Regions from separate parts of the Homo sapiens genome. Here all the other regions are linked to region 1. The links are contacts of gene promoters, found by promoter capture Hi-C in human tissues and cell types (Jung and others, 2019). All regions are on one chromosome and are shown on one strand. The core of a region is centred on a gene start or on the middle of the fragment in contact, and the rest is flanking DNA. Distances in the headings are between cores, read along the strand shown.

Evidence for each region. The method cuts DNA at HindIII sites, captures the fragments that hold promoters and counts their contacts. A contact is called where the count stands out against the background at its distance.
Region 2: a fragment that was not itself captured here is called in contact with the fragment with the promoter of OGDHL in region 1 in 3 of the 25 tissues and cell types used here (H1 embryonic stem cells, aorta and pancreas).
Region 3: a fragment that was not itself captured here is called in contact with the fragment with the promoter of OGDHL in region 1 in 5 of the 25 tissues and cell types used here (H1 embryonic stem cells, bladder, pancreas and 2 more).
Region 4: a fragment that was not itself captured here is called in contact with the fragment with the promoter of OGDHL in region 1 in 2 of the 25 tissues and cell types used here (liver and mesendoderm cells).

The regions. Positions count from the first base shown.
Region 1 is chr10:49,760,860-49,763,700 of GRCh38, reverse strand. It overlaps OGDHL (oxoglutarate dehydrogenase L), which reads left to right and starts at 1,378. Exons shown (of 23, transcript NM_018245.3): 1 at 1,378-1,462. RefSeq lists a silencer at 1,418-1,627. The HindIII fragment of the contact is 26,824 bases long and covers 1-2,841 here.
Region 2 is chr10:49,641,524-49,644,364 of GRCh38, reverse strand. All of the region lies in intron 7 of CHAT (choline O-acetyltransferase), which reads right to left. Among named protein-coding and RNA genes, the nearest start is that of CHAT, 29 kb to the right of the region's middle. The HindIII fragment of the contact is 6,718 bases long and covers 1-2,841 here.
Region 3 is chr10:49,694,645-49,697,485 of GRCh38, reverse strand. C10orf53 (chromosome 10 open reading frame 53) reads right to left here. Exons shown (of 3, transcript NM_001042427.3): 3 at 1-2,841. Among named protein-coding and RNA genes, the nearest start is that of C10orf53, 16 kb to the right of the region's middle. The HindIII fragment of the contact is 4,554 bases long and covers 1-2,841 here.
Region 4 is chr10:49,828,883-49,831,723 of GRCh38, reverse strand. All of the region lies in intron 16 of PARG (poly(ADP-ribose) glycohydrolase), which reads left to right. Among named protein-coding and RNA genes, the nearest start is that of OGDHL, 68 kb to the right of the region's middle. RefSeq lists enhancers at 1-49, 50-815. The HindIII fragment of the contact is 3,975 bases long and covers 1-2,841 here.

The DNA of each region.
Region 1 (2,841 bases), core at 129-2,628:
CACCCGGAATTTGAATTTTGAAAAACAGAAGAGCCTTGAAGAGACAGTTCCTCTATGGCTCAGCCCTGCTTCCTGAAGTAAATTTTCAGCTTTCCTCTGATTCTGTGAGTTGCCTTATATACAACCTTCATATCAACTCGTTTTCGGCTGAAGCTAGCCAGGTCATTTTTGGTGCTTGTGTCCAAAGAATTCCCAATGAACCCTGCCCTTCTGCACCAGATAAAATCTTACTCATCCTTCAGGATCCAAGTCAAGTGTCCATTTACTCACTCAGTCATTCATTCAACAAATATTTACTGAAAAATACCATGATAGTGCTGTGTTAAGTGCTGAAGATTCTTGACCACATGTATCCCTAACTGTCTCCAAATAAAGAACTTTTGGGAGACTTCAGGTGCAGAAGTTAGTTGTATTCCTTTCTTCGTGGCACTCTGTCAGCAGTGATCTGGGTAATTGATTAATTACCTCATATCCACATTCCCCATCCTCCTCCCTCGACAAGCAACCATATTAATTGGTTTGATATGTACTTGAATATATTCTTGTGAAGTGCATACTGTAGTTTTGAGATTAAAATTCAAGAGTGTAAGTGTAGAAGCAGAGAAGCCAGTTAGGAGGCTGCTGCGATAATCCAGGAGAGATTTGATGGCAACTTGAACCACAGGTATGTTATGTTCCTATACAAGAAATCCCTGCATTTAAATGAGAACAAAACCCAACAGAAAGCTGAAAAAAATACAACAGAAAACCCCAAACTAACAAACAACGGGAGATGCAAATGGTTGATAACCAGAGAAATGCAGATTAAAACAATAACAGGACATTGCATCTGCTATTCTGATAATAATTAGAAAGTTGATCTCTATCCCAGAGAAAGTTCCACGCAGGATCCTAAGGGAATGTGTATGAAGAAGTTCATTGCAGCCTTGTTTGTGGCCACGGGGTGGTGAGGACAGCCTGGGTCACCATCAGTGGGAGGATGAATGGGTAAAATGTGTATCAGATTTGGGGTAAGCACTTTTCACGCATTATCTCATCTTTTTTTCAAAACATCCCTAAGATAGTGGAACTTTTCATAGCATTCCCATTTTACAGACGACAAAACAAAACCTATCCTCTCCTACACACAAAGGCTGCTTGTCGTCTGGTACATTCGTCCTAGTTTTAGGACGAGCACACGGGGTTCAGGGCCTCAGCCCCGTTCTGCGGTCTCAGAGAGGAGTCCCCCCTTCGGCCGTGGGCGACCTCGGGCCTGGGCCGCCAGCACCGTGGACAGCGCCAGGAGCGGGGCGGGGCATCCATGGAGACGTCACGACGCGCGGAGTCTCAGGGGCGCGCGCCCGTGGGCGGCTGCGTCACGTGACCCAGGTAATTGGCACGGCGCGCGCGCACCCCTTCCGCGCAGCCCCCTGACCTGCAGCCTCCGGACCTCGCTGCAGCGCGGACCCGGCCCGCCCGCCCGGTGAGCGCGGCGGCCCGCCCCCTCCCGGTCCCTGCGCCGCTGCTTCTCCTGCCGTCCTGGGGACCGGCCCCACAGCTCCTCTCTCCTGGGTCCTGGGGCGCCGCTGCCCGCAGCCCTGAGTCTGGCCCCGCCGGGGGGAGGGGGAGGAGGAACAGACTGTGACCTTGGCTCTGACCTTGGCTGGCCGTGGCCTCCCCCGGGACCCCCAGCCCATCGCGCGCGTACCACCCGGCTAGTCCAGGGTCCTGCGCAGAGGAGCGGGTGCTCGCGGTGGGTTTCTCCAGCCCGAGGACTTCAGACTGCCCCGCGCCTTCCGTGGCCAGGGGAGGGCCCGGAGCTGCGAGGGCTGTGCGGGGGATGGGGAGGGTCAGCGCTGTGCACCTGGCGGGACCCATAGGCAGCTTCGGACTACCAAGGAGCCTAATAGACGGTTTTAACCGCGGTCTCCGATTACAGATGAGAAAACTGAGGCCTGAGAGAGGGCGGCATGGCCTGAGGTCGCTGCTTGCATGGGATGCGCTTCTTCCGCCCCCCGGGAGATGTGGGAGGGGGACGGGGTAATCCCGAGGCCACAGCAGGCTGCAGTACGCATTCGCCGAACCGGAGAGACCCTTTGACGCCCCTCGGCCACCTGGCTCAAGCAGGCCCTAGCAGCCCCTCCCCAGTGTCTTGGAACAGGCCCCAACTAAATAGAATTGCGGTTTGTTGCTGAGCAAAAGCTCATCTGCTTCTCAGAAAGTGGGGTCAGAGTAGACCTGCTGCTGAGAGAATCCAGGCTCTGCTGCTGCCCAGCTTGGAGGGCCCTCTGGGGAGAACCCTTCCCGGCCTCTGTTTACTGATCTCTGCAATGGGTGCATTAGGGAGTAGTCCTCACTAGGGCACCCCAGACAGGGTTGTGTGTGTGGGAGTCTTAGTGGCCATGGTGTCGGCAGTTTTCTGGGGTTGGGTTGAGGTTCTGAGGTTGGGTTGGGGATGCTATGTGACCTTGTCCTCAGAGAAGAGACCCCCAAGAGATACCCAGGGCAACTCTGCTGGAGTCTGGACTGGGCAGGGGGTTGCACAGGGCACCTGACTCTCACTCCTTGTTGCTGTCCTTGACTGTATGGGCAGGAACTAGTAGGGCTGGCTTGGGCTCTGGCTCTAGATACTGAGCCCTCATGCCCTGCTGGGATGCAGGTGGGGGTGGGTGGCAGGCTGCCCTCCTGCCAGGCTGGGTCAAGGTCACAACAGTGCCCAGTGGCCAACCCAGACTGTTTAGTGTTTATAAAACAGTGTTCCTGCACCGGGCCATTCTGGACACAGCCAGACTTTGTCCCTATCTGGCCCAAACTGCCCCATTCCCCTGTGGGGGTGGGAGTGGCGCTGGCAGAGGGAGCAGC
Region 2 (2,841 bases), core at 226-2,725, 120 kb after region 1:
CTACCGCCCACAAGGGAGAATCCAAATTTCTAAACATGGCACCGTGGGCTCCATGGCCACCTCCTTCCCACCCTAGATCCCTGCGTGGACCTCACAGACAACCTCCTGCCCCTCCCTGATCCTGTGGACATCCCATCTCCTCATCATCACGCAGGCTGTGCCCAGGACAAGGCCCTTCTCCTCCTCTGTCTATGACAGCCCTCCCTGAGCTCCCTCATCCTCTGGCAGTACCAGCCCTGCCCTGGAGGACTCCTAACACCCTGAGCACGTGGCCTCCACAGCTTGCTCAGTGCAGATGTGGAATTGCACTCTTGTCAGGCCAGCCTCACACAGCACCTGAGCCCAGAGGTGCCCCCCAATCCCTGACCACCAGCCCCTGCTGCACAGCACATGACCCCAATGCCATTCCCAGACCACCGTGCTTTGGACAGTCAGCACTTGCAGCCCCTGGACCCCTGGTCTGGTCCCCTCCCCCATATCAGCACTCACTGAGGGTGGGGCCTGGGCCTCCTGAACAAGGCAAGCACAGTCCATGCTGGGTAATGGACTTTAGTGTGCTTCCCTTGGCCTGGGCAAAGTAGGGCTGGGATCTGTGGACCCAGTTCAGACAGGGGGCCTGGAGGTGTCCAGCTGGCTAATGGGAAGGGGAAAGGCCATGTCCTTATGAAGGGCAAAACCCAACTACTTTTGAGGCTTTGAGCTTCATGAATTGATGGGGGAGTGGGGGTAGGGTGAGGCTGGGACAAGGTAGGGCTTCTTCCCCCTTGCAAGGCTCCCTGCTCTGCCCTTCTCCCCTCCTTAGGCATCCCTGCAGATGGCCATAGTGCTCGCCCTGCACTATGTGCTGTGCTACTGGTCCCTGCAGGCTCAGGCTAGCCAGTGCCTTCAGAGCCCCGGGGAGGCCTTGGCCAGGTCTGGGTCAGGTTCAGATCAGCAAAGAAGAAGGGAGAGGCATGCCAGGAGGTGTATAGTAGTGCAGGGTGGTGGATGGAGGGTGGGACAGTGGTTTGGATGGCCGGAGAACAGATCCCCAGGCTTGTAAGCAGAGCTTGTGAGTGATCGGCTTGACCTCCAGCTTATGGGTGAGGGCATGCAGGATTTAGGTGGGGCTGGAAGAACATAATGATGTGATGCTATTAGCTAACCTTTGTTGAGCACCTACTATGTGCCAAATATCAATCTAAACATGCATATTGATGCATATAAGATAGGTATCATTGTCATGCCTCATTTACAGGTCAGGACCAGAGAAACCAAATATCTTGACCTTAGGCCATTTACAAGGTTTCTCTTGTAAACACGGATGATAATAATCATCCACTAAGTGGAGGGAGCTGGGTTTGATCTCAGGCATCCAACCCCAGTGCTCAGGTTCATCAACAAGGGCTATGAATGCCCAGCTCAGTCATGTGACTTCAGCCAGCAACAACAGGGAGTGCTGAAGGATCATGGAAGAGCTCAGTGTGGTCAGAGCAGAGTCTAGGATACCTGGCAGCTTGGGAAAGGCATGGGCCTGAAGGCCAGCCAAGCCGGGGCCATAGGCAGCTTGAATGCTGTACACCTCATTCCTGTTGGCCATACCTCAGGGTGAACTCTGAGAGCCCTGGCTTAGTAGCTGCCTTCACTAAGCGATCCTTAAAAACAGCCCCAAAGCCAGTGTGGAGTGGGCAGACTGCAGCTCCTGAGGCAGCCCACAGCATGCCTGCTCAGTCAGGAGGCTGAGAGCAGGCCTTGATGCAGGCTCGAGGCAGGAGAGTGGAGGCCTGGCACACTCCTTTTTAACTGGGCAATGCAAGGCTGGCAGCAGGAAAGAATGGCTCCCTGGGCATCACTGCCCTTGTCACCTCCAGGCAGGGGAGGCAGATTGTGAGGAGGCACTGAGGCCTTGCCATCATGTGCAGGCTCTGCAGGGCCCAGGAGCCCAGCGCTGCCCAACAGGAACCAGGTCCTGGCTCATTAGACAGGGTAAAATGGGAGCAGGACAACAGAGCGGGGAGCCAGGTGGCCTTGCAAATGAACTCCCTGCATATAAGTAGCTGATCAGTCAAATGCTGACAAGTTTATCATGTAAGGCAGAAAATGAGCACTACACCCAAGCTCATCCACCATGACTGTGGCCCAAATGTAATGGAAACATGGGACAACGGGCTGAAGGCGCACGGCAGGAGCCATTTGTCTTGTGGCATCCTCATCGAGCACATCGAGGCTCCTTTAAAGTGGCGAATCAATCTTCCTCAAGGAGCCCGGCGTAATAGTGAGAGGTGGGGATTGAGTAATAGGAGGAGCCTGCTCTGACACCCATGCCCAAGGAGGGAGCTGACAGCTTTGGTAGTGTGGAAATTCCAGAGGCCAGGAGGCCTCGGGGAGCCCTGAGGCTGGCATTAGAGGTTGGAAGCTTACAGGCTGAGACTCTGATGAGCACAGACAAAATAGCACCTGGTATCTCTCTCTGTGCAGGGCTGCAAGACTCAGGAGATGTTCTTTAATGTGCACTACTGTGCACAAGTACCCCCGGACATATACCACCCTCTTTGGGACACTTGCCTTTGCTTGCTCTGATCTATTCCCTGAGAAGTTAGCACAAGTCAGATTTCTATGCCATGCCCATCCCCCTTCTCACAGTCCAGGAGATGGATGAACTGGGATCTTTCTCAGGGGCTTAGACCTTCTTAACCTTTCCCAATCCTATCTCAGCATCTTTCCTCCCCTGATGAAGGAGTACTTTTTTCTTTTGGGAGGTAAATCTGCCATCGCACATCTCATATTCTTCCCGACTCTCTGGCCTAGGGGGTGATCTTTATGCTGTCAGTCCTCAGAGACTATGAGAATTCAAACAAAAGT
Region 3 (2,841 bases), core at 117-2,616, 66 kb after region 1:
CTTGACATCTTATAAAACTTAAAATGTGATTTAATCAGTGGTATTTTAAAAGCATGAAGGCGCCCGAATGTCTAGCACGTTGAAGCACAGGGCACTTTTGCCTTTGATGGGGAGCAAGCTGTGTCTCTTGCTTCTGGGCAGGGAGGTGCGTGCTCGAGAGAGGGAGGCAAAGGAGGAGGATGACAGCACATTCTTCAGAGATTTCCATAGAGAAAGTTCCTCTTAATCAGTGACAGAGGAGGATAAGGCCATAGACAGGTGGCTTCTATGTCAAAATCTTTATTTTATTTTCTGAGACAGGGTCTCACTTTGTCACCCAGGCTGGAGTGCAGTGGCGTGATCTAGGTTCGCTGCAGCCTCTAGCTCCTGGGCTCAGGTGATCCTCCTGCCTCAGCCCCTCAAGTAGCTGGGACTACAGGTGCATGCCACCAGGCCTGGCTAATTTTTGTATTTTTTGTAGAGATGAGGCTTCACCATGTTGGCCAGGCTGCTCTCGAACTCCTGTGTTCAAACAAATCCACCCACCTTGGATTCCCAAAGTGCTGGGATTACAGGCAAAAGCCATAGTGCCCGGCCCTGATTTTAAGTTTTTATCTGAAAAGTACCCCTAACACACACTTACATACAAAGTGAAAATCAATTCCACCACTAAAAACATTTACAATACGGAAGGCAGAATAGCCCTGCAAACTTCCTCCCTCTACCTCACCTGCCCCCCACACCCCCCAATCCCACTGCTCAGAGGAAACCTCGGTGATTTTTCCCAGCAATGCTGATTCAGACATCATTTGCCTCTGATCCAAACTGAAACATAGGGCTCTGGGCACAGGCATCTCCCAGAAGCTTCTCCGGTATTTCTTAGAATCCGTGTACTGTCTCGCCTTACCTGCCCTTCAGCTCTGGTCATGAAGCCAAGGAGGGCAGGTCTTCTTCACTTGTAGTGCTACTCTGAAGGCACAAATACAACCTGCGGGGTTGAGGCGGATGCTGGAGGAGGGCATGGGGCTGCCGAGGGAAGCACTTGTTACCAGTTTAATGCCGGGGTTGCAGGGCTAGAGGAGACAGGATTCCACTGTGTTTGGAGATGAAGTTCCCACTCCAAATGCAGACAGGGGAAGCTAGCAATTTCAGTTCTCAGCATTGAAAAAGTTTTGGCCATGAAAGTAGAAATCACAGCTCAAGGGAGAGATTTCCTGATTCAAGATAAAATGCTCAGACAGTCAACAAATCATGCGGGAAGAGGCTCTATGTAAAATGTTACGTTTAAAAAAAGATTCAACATACCTGCCCATGTACCCCCTGTATCTAAAATAAAAGTTGAAAAATTTTTAAAAACTTACAAAATTGTGCATAAATCTCAAATGGATGAAGTCAATTTCTATATGTCTATCTCTTTATGAATATTCAGACATAAACAGAAGAAACCCAAATTGAAATATATAAAAATGTTACTAAAGTTGTACTTTATTTTTACCTGTATTTTTCCATTTTTCTTTAATGAGAATGGATTTCTCTTGTAGTAAAATGTTATATTGAAACAAAGATTGAATGCTACATCTATAGTAACTTAAACTGGGTTTTGAAAAAAAGGGACTAAATGTAGGGTTACAAAAGATATGTGAAAACCAGCACCAGACACTGGGAGGAAGAATCTCTTTTGAGCCTCAGTTTCTCAGTAAGGAGATGCTTAAATAGTTCCATAGAGTTCTAAGTGATTCACAATCCCTGAATCAACTCTGACAAGTGAAGCTTGGGCTGGGGTTTTAAAAATTATATCCCCTACTTTGTCCTGTGTGAGAAGGAACTTGTGCAAGCAGTTTCATGGTCCCCAGTGGTCTTTGAAGTTCTGGGGTGCAGGAGGGTTTGAGGCTGCCTGGGGCGATGGTTAGGACTGCTCTCAGAGCAGGTGAAGCCGCAGGTCTCTGAGCGATCCTGAAAGCCCTGCTCCTTCAGCACAGGTGCCCCGGGTCCAGAGTTTTCTGTTAGGGAATCTGGTTTTCTCCCCGTAGGTGTGAGGCCTTCTTACCATGACCTCCCATTTGACGTCATTAGATCAATATCTGCATTTCCCCCTCTCTGTTACTCTATAGTTAAGAATATATACTACACATTGGTGCGTAAGAGTGGAAAGTAAAAATATCATTTCGACATGACTGATTTTCACACTGAACATAGTGAAAACCCTCTTTAACTCTATGGGGCTGTGTTCTACTCCAGAGGGACCAGGGAACCATCTCACATTCTGCTGAGGACTCTTTTGCGCCCTCCTCAGACGATATTAATGCAAAAGAAGGCAGGTCATTTTCTTGTTTTAGATGAGAGAAATTGAAGATTTGATTTTGGCTAATTTTATAATAGCAATTTAAAATATTTATTCCCTCAGGAGTCAGAAATAAATCTGTAGGAATAGCAAGGTTTCCAAATATTAACATTTGCTTTTGGTTCAGACTTTCAAAAGCCTTTATTCCCACTCTTCCCCCAACCTCTCTTTAATTTCACCTGTTCTGAGCACTTTGAGTACTAAACAATGGAATCTCAGATGCTTCTGGCAACTATGTGTTATTAGTCAGGAATGGCACCTTGTTATTTGATTGCATTTTATTGTTTCCTTCAGCTCAATGTGTACCTGATATTGGAGGGCTCTCCCTATGGGTTGAGATTGAGACATGTTATAAATGATGTGGTTTTTATTATTTCTGTGGGCTCCTGTGCAGCCAGGTGACAATCCTGAGGCTGCGTAAGCTGGAGGTCAGGCCCGAGTTGCCCTGTTCTGACTAGCAGAGCCCAGTGTCCACACCGTGGCACAGCCACTTCTGCCTGCATCATAGAATGGCTGGGGCA
Region 4 (2,841 bases), core at 230-2,729, 68 kb before region 1:
TCTACAACCCTTCCCCTTAGTGTCAGGGCACCCCACTCTCCTGGCACATCAGCGTGTACACCAGTCAGGAGGCTGCACTGACCTTTGGTGACCAAAGATTTCATTGAAGTCTCATTCTGTAGGCATGATTGATTAAATCATTGGCCACATGATTGAGCTCGGTCTCTGCCCTCCCCTGACTCCCGGATGTGCAATCTGAATCGCCTCATTAGCAGAACAAAGGCACCAGCACTCAGGAAATTCCAAGGGTGTTTGAAGCTTTTACCAGGAACCCAAGATGGCACACCAGAAAAATTCTTTTTTATACCACAGTTACAAAGTAACAAGCAATAAAGCAGACATAAAACAGCCAGCTGGCCTTAATAGCTGAACTATATTTAGATAAAATTCATCTCTTTGAGAATACTTGAGTCTGTCATAATGTAACTGCCTTTCCCCTCATCAGTAAAATGCTTCTTAATATTTTTATAAAAATGACACATTTATTATTTTTTTTTAATCTAGAAAAATACCATGAAGTATATAAAAATCACTAGAATTCACTGTCAGCATTTGGTGACCATTCTTCAGGTCATCTCAGTAGCAATGTATGTAACTTGATGAAGTGACACCCTCTATTCTATTCTCCAGCCTCCTCCTTTTAGAAAGTCTGCAGTCTCATGGATAGTTTTCAACTATCCATCTAACAAATGTAGATCTACTGAGTACTCAGCATTTGTTAGTGGCTACACAGTATTCTGTTGTATGCACATATGTACCATAATTTATTTCACAGATTCTCCATTCAGAGTTTGTTTTCATTATATTATAAGGAGTACTACAGTGTGTAGTACAATTATATATATTATGTGTAATTATCTTCTTAAGGTAAATTCCTAGAGGTGAGATTAATGACTCAAAGAATACGTATACTTCATTTTGATCCTTGTAGATTTCACTCTGAAAGGTGATATCAATTCACATTGTCTTCCTCACATGAACAGCATCACCAAGACAGGACTTTGTTACTATTTTTCATTTCTCTAAGGTTCAACAGTTTTCGTGTTTATTGGCCATTTGTTTGTTTTGTGAATTGCTTTTTCATGCCTTCTGCCCATTCATCTCTTTGGGAGTAGTTTGATTTTATCACTGGCTAGTAATAACTCTTTGTATATTAAAAAATATTAATTGTTTAACTGTTACATGTTATAAACATTTTTCTGCTTCTTCATTTATTTCAACCGATCAGGCTGAAGTTACTGAGTTAGCTTTTATGTGTTCACATTTTTGTGGTGTGCTTATAAAGATGTTTCCTGTCCCTTTATGCTAAAGACTTTCACCTACATTTTCTTCAAATTCAAAGACAAAAACTGCATGGTGCTATTTTCGGTGTTTGAGGAAACCTATTTTTCACTCTGGGCTTATTGATCTTACGACAGATACTTTTTTCCTGTCTTTCTCTTAAGTAAAATGAATGACTAGATTCAAGTCATCAATCCAGAAGCTAGGTCTGCTGTAAGCCGTGGTCATTTGTGATAGACAGTTTGGAAAGCTTTATAAATGTGTTCACTTCTTTTCCTTTTTTCTTTTTTTCTGGCTTAAAAGCCTTTCAGACTGCAGCTGTGCTTGCTCTGGTGACTATCAAGCATAGTAGTCTAAGATTTCCATTATATAATTCATTTCCTCAACTATTGAGATTTAAATTTTGGAGTAACTGACATTTCCCTCCCCTTCATTAGCATAAATATTCATTAAAAATTTAGAATGAGTCATAAAGTCCTTCAATGGGGAATTGGTTACTAAACTATGATGCTAAAAAAAAAAGAAATTATGGTACATTTATGCAATAAAATATTATGCTTCCTTTAAAAACCATTATAGAAATGTGTCTGCTGACAGGGAAAGATGGTTTTGGAATATTGACAAATGGGAGAAATACCCAATGTATGCCATATAAACCATTTTAAAATTAAATTGTGAATATAAAATATCACACACAAATTTGCAGTTCTCTATGTTCATCTGTTTACGTGCCAGGATTAACTATGGTTGTTCTCTAGTGGGTGATAGTCTTTGTTTTGTTTTGTTGGGGGTTTTTTCATTTTTTATTTTTAGTAGAGATGGGGTTTCACTATGTTGCCTAGGCTGGTGTTGTGATTACACTTGTGAGCCACCACACTTGGTCAGTGATGTTTTATACTTTATTTTTAATCTGCATCTTTTTTATTGTGAGCATATATTGTTTTTGTAACAAAAAAATCTTATAAAAAATGTTCATGGTGGGTAACATGGGCAGGTATAAATCCTTAAACTTGTATTTCTTTAATTATTAATAGAAATAAGGCTAAGCTGAGCACAATGGTATGCGCCTATAGTCCCAGCTACTTGGGAGGCTGAGGTGGGAGGAATGTTTGAGCCCTGAAGTTCAAGGTCAGCCTAGTAAGACCACATCTCTTACAAAAAAAGAAAATTACAAAAGAAAGAAGGCAAATTTTTTTTTTTTTATTTTGAGACGGAGTCTTGCACTGTCGCCCAGGCTGGAATGCAGTGGCACTATCTCGACTCACTGCAACCTCCACCTCCTGAGTTCAAGCAATTCTCCTCCCTCAGCCTCCCGAGTGGCTGGGATTACAGGTGCCTGCCACCACGCCCAGCTAATTTTTTGTATTTTTAGCAGAGACAGGGTCTCACCATGTTGGCCAAGCTGGTCTCGAACTCCTGACCTAATGATTCACCTGCCTCAGCTTCCACAGTGCTGGGATTACAGGCATGAGCCACCGTGCCCGGCTGGCAAAATATTTTTAACATGCTTGTTACTTAATTGTACATGAGTTTTGTGTTTTACCACAATTAGTTGTTTGT